Linked DNA regions of Homo sapiens: region 1 is linked to region 2. The links are contacts of gene promoters, found by promoter capture Hi-C in human tissues and cell types (Jung and others, 2019). All regions are on one chromosome and are shown on one strand. Each heading gives the region's core, a stretch centred on a gene start or on the middle of the fragment in contact. The rest is flanking DNA. Distances are from core to core; before and after follow the strand shown. Region 1 overlaps MYT1L (myelin transcription factor 1 like). Region 2 holds the start of TMEM18 (transmembrane protein 18).

Evidence for each region. Contacts are between HindIII fragments. The study calls those that stand out against the background at their distance.
Region 1: a fragment that was not itself captured here is called in contact with the fragment with the promoter of TMEM18 in region 2 in 1 of the 25 tissues and cell types used here (IMR-90 fibroblasts).

What each region holds. Positions count from the first base shown.
Region 1 is chr2:1,810,095-1,813,500 of GRCh38, reverse strand. The region is part of intron 21 of MYT1L (myelin transcription factor 1 like); the gene reads left to right. Among named protein-coding and RNA genes, the nearest start is that of PXDN, 67 kb to the right of the region's middle. The HindIII fragment of the contact is 3,644 bases long and covers 1-3,406 here.
Region 2 is chr2:675,343-678,655 of GRCh38, reverse strand. It overlaps TMEM18 (transmembrane protein 18), which reads left to right and starts at 1,250. Exons shown (of 5, transcript NM_152834.4): 1 at 1,250-1,367; 2 at 3,026-3,146. The coding sequence starts at 1,311. It overlaps TMEM18-DT (TMEM18 divergent transcript), which reads right to left and starts at 1,284. Exons shown (of 3, transcript NR_183417.1): 1 at 1,183-1,284. RefSeq lists enhancers at 1,108-1,177, 1,208-1,307, 1,210-1,975 and a silencer at 1,468-1,717. The HindIII fragment of the contact is 18,361 bases long and covers 1-3,313 here.

The DNA of each region.
Region 1 (3,406 bases), core at 545-3,044, 1.1 Mb before region 2:
GCCACGGCCGGGAGTTTGGGGACCCCTGCTCTAGGAAATATTCCAGCATCGGCAGCTGCTCTCAGAGAAGCTGCTGGAAGCTCTCCTGGGGGAGTGGGGGCAATCACAGCTGTGCCCCTGGGGCCATTTCTCAGCTGTGGGATGGAACGGATGGGACCCAGGCTGAGGCCCAGGGGCCTCGCTGAGGGAGAAAGAAGCACAGACCTGGACTGAAGTGATGAAGAGAAGGGAGGGGGTTCAGGCGCAAACAGCAGAGGCTGCTCGCTGGGAGGACGGCAAGGAGGAGGAGGCGTGCCTTTGTGGCCCTCCCTCTCTCCCCCCCACCTGCAGCTCCTGGCCCCTCAATGCCATTCGCAAACACAGGGAAAGTCGAAAGGGCTGCGGAGGTTCAGACGGCGGAAGGCCAGAGAGGTTCAGCGGGGGAAAGATGGGAGCTGCTCCCTGCATTTGTGAGGATCATACTGAGCCGGGCTGGGCCACACGCACCGTGGACCGACCAGGCGTCACCCTTGTCCTACAGTCACAGTCTTAGGACCTCTGCAGGAGGCCCTCACCCCAGCCCTCCTCTCATCTTAACCCAGGGCGGCAGCTGCATTCAAGAGTCTTTTTTTTTTTTTTTTTTTTTGAGACGGAGTCCTGCTCTGTCACCCAGGCTGGAGTGCAGCAGTGCGATCTCGGCTCACTGCAACCTCTGCCTCCCGGGTTCAAGAGATTCTCCTGCCTCAGCCTCCCAAGTAGCTGGGATTATAGGCACCTGCCACCACGCCCAGCTAATTTTTGTATTTTTAGTAGAGACAGGGTTTCACCATGTTGGCCAGGCTGGTCTGGAACTCCTGACCTCATGATCTGTCCGCCTCGGCCTCACAAAGTGCTAGGATTACAGGCATGAACCACCGCGCCCGGCTAAGAGTCTTCTCTTAACTTGGAAGTCCTGCAAAATCCTGCCGCAGGCCTCTTTGAGGGCTCAGTCTGCACCTTCCAGAGCCTGGGTGCACTCACACTCACCCTGGGCCTCCACTCACTGAGCCATCACAAAGTGCATTCAGACATTTTATGCTTTCAGAAGTCGTCACTGGGCACCTATTCCATCTCCAGCACTCTCCCATCATGGGGATACAGAGCAGTGAACAAAAAAGTGCATTTTAATCCTTGCCCTCAAGAATACACATTCTTTTCATTAAACTTCACAAACACAGTCAATTCAATATTTTATTCTCATTTCATAAGTGAGCAAACAGGACTGCCTAAGTCTTTCCTAGCCAGTTCCACGTCTTATGTGCGTTAGAGCATCAGGGGGTGCGGTGTGAGGTCCAGTGGGCCTCCTGGTCTCACAAAGGACTTGCCAGATGTAGTCACCTGACTGCAGAGTCTACCTGGATGCGGGGGCCAAAGCGCAGACACACCTGCAGGAAGATGTGTGTGACAGCCACAGTGTGTCCAGTGGCAGGAAGGGGAAAAGTGGCGTTAACATCCAAGCATCCTATTTTAGGAGAGCCTTAACAGATCTTTTGAGAACTTCTTATTTTACAAATGAAAATATCCAGCTCGCCTTCAGAAGCAGATTTACGGATAAGCTAGGGAAGCAGAAGTGTCAGCCCCCACCCCAGCCGGATTTGCAGGGCGTCCTGCTGGGATCTGATGGGGAGGCAGGAGAAGACCCAGGAGGGTGCCCCGGAGTGGGGACGACTGCCAGGTTGTTGCCCAGGCCCCATCAGGGAGGACTGAAGAGGAGCCTGTTCCCTCCGGAACGCGAGGGGTTCGTTCACGCCCCACACTAAAGACAGCTTGAGTAGCACAGGGATTTCCGGTGTAAACAGCAGCAGGCAGGGTGAGAGGATCCATCAGAAGCAGCAGTGCCAATGTCTAGTAACAAATAAATGAACAAAAAAACAGCAAAGGGAACCACGAGCCAGGACCCCCTCAGGGACTGTCCGGATTCCTGGGGATGCAGTCAGGGCAAGCAGGAGAAGCCAGGGCGCCCACCGTGCCCACCCTGTCAGGCCACCCAGTTCCCAGAGGCCTCTCTGCTCCTGGGGCTTCCCGTGCGGCTTGCCCTGGGATGGGATAGGACGCGGGAGCTGATGATGCTGGAGCTGATGACGCCAGAGCTGATGACGCCAGAGCTGATGATGCTGGAGCTGATGACGCTGGGGTTAAAGTCCCCGCTGCTCCTTCTCCCACTGAACCTAGGAACATCATCAGCAAACACAGCAGTTCACAGCCACAGAGTTGTGGTATGAGCAACAAATACTGGTGATTGTCTTAGACGTTCCAGGGCTGCAAAAACAAATACCATACCTTGGGCAGCATAGAAACCAGAAATTTATTCCTCCAAGTTCTGGAGACTGGAAGTCCGAGACCGAGGCACCAGCAGATTCGGCATCTGGCAACTGCTGCTCTCTGGTTGGTGGACGACGCCTTCTCACTCTGTCCTCACATGGGAGAAGGGGTTAAGGAGCTGTCTGGGTCCCTGTTATAAGGGCACGGATCCCATCACGAGGCCTCCTCACTTCCCATACGCCCCTTCTCCTAACACCATCCCGGTGGGGGTCAGGATTTCAGTGCACGAGTTTTCAGGGGACACAGTCAGGCAACAGCAATGATTATTTAGAATTTTATGAATATTCTATTATAATTATGAGATGCAAACATCACATCAAAAAAATAACAACTTAGACCTGTGGTGTGGATGAAGAATACTGGAAATATTTTTATACAAAGATAGGATTTCCCCAAAAACAACCACTAATATCCCCAGTTGAAAATGTATTACGATCAAGTTCTTCTGCTATGAATTTTCCTGTTTTCTTAAATTTTAAAAGAAAATGTATTACAAAAATAATATTTAGAAAGCTTAATTATATTAATGCAGATATTAGAGATATTTCTAATAATGATGTAATCTGCCTGCACTAGTAAAGAGTGTTTCTAGATATATCACTAACACATCATCACACCACTTACGGACACGGTCCATCTAACACTTCATATACAGGTGAAATACAATATTATGTATAGAGAGAATAAACACATATGTCATATACATATATAAAACATTATAGGCGGGGTGCGGTGGCTCATGCCTGTAATCCTAGCACTTTGGGAGGCCAAGGCGGGCAGATCACCTGAGGTCAGGAGTTGAAGACCAGCCTGGCCAATATGGTGAAACCCTGTCTCTACTAAAAATACAAAAATTAGCCAGGTGTGGTGGCACACACCTGTAATCCCAGAGGCTATAATTCTGTAATCGGGAGGCTGAGGCGGGAGAATCACTGGAACCCAGGAGGCAGAGGCTGCAGTGAGCCGACATCGGGCCACTGCACTCCAGCCTGGGTGACAGAGCAAGACCCTCTCAAAAAAAAAAAAAAAAAGCGTTATATATAGAAGTTTTTCACCTCACCCATAG
Region 2 (3,313 bases), core at 1-2,500:
AGGAGTTCAAAACTAGCCTGGCCAACATGGTGAAACCCCGTCTCTACTAAAAATACAAAAAAAATTAGCCAGGTGAGGTGGCGAACACCTGTAATCCCAGCTACTCGGGAGGCTGAGGCAGGAGAATAGCTTGAACCCAGGAGGCGGAGGTTGCAGTGAGCCGAGGTCCCACCATTGTGCTCCAGCCTGGGCGACAGAGCGAGACATCGTCTTAAAAAAAAAAAAAAAAAACCAGGAAAGCCAAGCCCGAGATTTCCCAAACTCAGCAACAACAGTCGTGATGTTTTGAGAGGAAGGTTGAGAAACACAAAAGAGAGGAAGATGCACTATCTACCTAACGGGATGTTCCTGGAGTTGAATACAGGAAGAATAGAGAAAAATATCAATGAAAGAAATGTTTTCCCATAAGAAGAAACCATGACCTTCTACACTGAAATGAGAGAATGCATGTTAAGTAGCATAAGCAGAAATGACCACACTGTGGAAAGATTTTAAGAAAGATCTGGGAGGGGTTAAAGCTATTAAAAAAAAAAAAAAGTCCACCACTAGAACTATTTTTAGAAACATTAAACTAGTTCAAGAGCTAACATATGCAATTAAAGTATATACACTTAATAATTCATGATGTTAAAATAACAGAATGTTTAATTTGAAAATGTCAAAGTTGGGGTATAGATGTTAAAATAAAGGGAAAAAATTCGCTGGAAGAAAATTAACTTTATATTTTTGTATCTGTCGTTGAACAACGAAGTGAAGCGTAAGAACATCTGGTAAATCTCCAAAGTGAAGACAGATAACCCTAAGCTGACCCAGACTAAGAGTGCACTGCCCTTAGGGTCGCGAGAGCAGACACCTTCCCAAGTCCTGCAGGGTCCGAGGAGTGGGCAATGTCCCCGGCTCCTGCAGGGTCTCGGGGCGGACACCGTCCTCATTGATGCTCTGACCCTTCTAGGGAGTCCCAGGTGGGACAGGGCTGGCGTGGCGGTACAGCGCCCTGAGCCTTTGAAACAAACCTCCTAAATTCCACCCGCCTCCGCCTGCTCCTCTGTTAACGAACTAAAGACGCCCTCGGCCTCCTGGCGGAGCGAGCACAAGTCCCACAGCAGCGTAGTAAGTTTTCCGTATTACAGCGACCACCAGGAAATATCGCGATATCTGGACCTAGCAATGCCATGAAATTACCGCGAGAGGAAGCAAGCGCAAGTTTCGTGAGAAGGGCAGATCTCACGAGAGAGGATTTGGCGCCCTCCTCTGTGGATTCTGGCCAGGCCGGGTTCGGCGGTTGCTGTGAGAGCGGGCTTCCCAACACCATGCCGTCCGCCTTCTCTGTCAGCTCTTTCCCCGTCAGCATCCCAGCCGTGCTCACGGTAACTCGCGGCCCGCGTAACCACCAGTTCGGGGGAGGACGGCGGAGAGGCGTAGGGTAGGCCCCACAGAGCACCCGGCCTGTGGCCAAGAAGGCCCCGGCCGTGGGCGGGGCCTTGTGGCGGAGCGCGCGCGCTGGGCAGGGTCCTGAGACCTGTGGGAGTGGCTCGGGGCCGGCGTCGGGGGCGCGCGCTGTGGGCGGGGTCCTGGGCCCTGTGGGAGGGGGCCGGGGCCGGGCGTCGGGGCGCGAGCGCTAGGCGGGGTCCTGGGCCGTTGGGCGGGGAGGGGCGGGGCCGGGCGGGGCCTTGTGGAGGAGCGTGCGCAGTGAGCTGGCTCCGGCGCTCTGTGGCCCGGGCTTGGGCTGGGCTGGCGTCCTGCACCGTGCGGGCGTGGCTGAGTTGTGTGGGCGGAGCGCGAGGGGTAGGGCTTTGTTCGTGTGGGAGGTGCACGCCGGCCAGTCCAGCGTCTTGCGGGCGGGGCTTGGGCCATGTGGGCGGATTCTGGCAGTGCGGCGGGGCGTGCGTGGTGGAGCCTGATCGTGTGGGGTGGCACGGAGGAACGCTGCCCAGTGTGGGCGGGGCGTGCGCCGTGCCGGGTTCGTCTGACAGATCCCAGGGGAGCCCACGCCCCACGTGGCCGCCAAGGGGTGACATGGGCACTCGATGGGGTCTGGGCAGAAAGCCGTGCTCCCCTCACCTCCGTGCCTCTGGTCTTCTGGTGGGTGCATTGATGGGAGTAGATGCGCTTGTGTCCTTATGTCATGGCGCGGCTCTGGAGAAGCCGCTGCGGTCCCCAGCAGAGAGTAGTGACACAGGAGTTCTGGAGGGCTGTGCCGGGCTGCAGCTTGGAGGGCAGGGCGGGGCTGCAGCTTGGAGGGCAGGGCGGGGCTGCAGCTTGGAGGGCAGGGCTTGTCTTCTGCAGGAGGGCGCTCAAGGAGGGGATGGGGAGGGTTGAGGACTGCTGGGATTGGCATCTGAGCATCAGGTGGGGACTGAGCAGCAGTGGATCTGAGCCTGGCTACTTCAGGTCCCTGAGCCAGACACTGTCCCCAGGTACAGCAGGGTCCCGGGGAGTCCAGGAGGCGGCGGAGTGCGGCACTGTCTGGAGAGTTCAGTGTATTGCAGAGAGGTTGGAGAAAATCAAGTCTTGCACGTGGCGATGGCTCAAGATTCCCTGAGGTCTTCAGTGCTGACTAAGGAGTCTGAAATGATGATTCATGTTTTACCTTTGGGGCTGAGCCAAGTGCATCTCTTTGAGCAATCGTCTTAATTTCCTTGTCGTCACCAATTATCATAACCAATTATCATCGTAAAGGATGGTAATTCCTTTAATTATACCCACCTTAAAAACATGATTCTGTTCCACAAACGAAAGGAGCACATCAGAGATGCCTTCAGTTCTGTGTGCTTGAACTTTGAATTCCATGAATTATAGTTGCACTGAGGGGAGAATCCTGTTTCCATCCTCCTGGTTCCTTCTCCCTTTCCTGTCCCCATGTTTCTCTGAGGCCTGGCAATGCTCTCTGGATACTTGGTGAGTAGCCCAGGAGGACTCAGGAGTGAGAGGCCCCTGCCTCCTGCGCTGGGAGAAGGCTGTGGGTGGGCCGTGAACCCGGCCTTGAGTGGCAGGACAGTGAGTGTCTGCTGGTGTGTTCCTACAGCAGACGGACTGGACTGAGCCCTGGCTCATGGGGCTGGCCACCTTCCACGCGCTCTGCGTGCTCCTCACCTGCTTGTCCTCCCGAAGCTACAGACTACAGATCGGGCACTTTCTGTGTCTAGGTGAGTAAAACAACACAAACTCCACAACTCAGATCACTGTGTGAAATGAAACTGTGTATGTTCTGTCTGTGTCTTCGAAATATATACATATTTTTACAAGACCTCCCAACCCTCTGTCATGTGCCTGCTCCCAGGGCACTCCCGTTTTTCACTCTTGGAAGCTATAA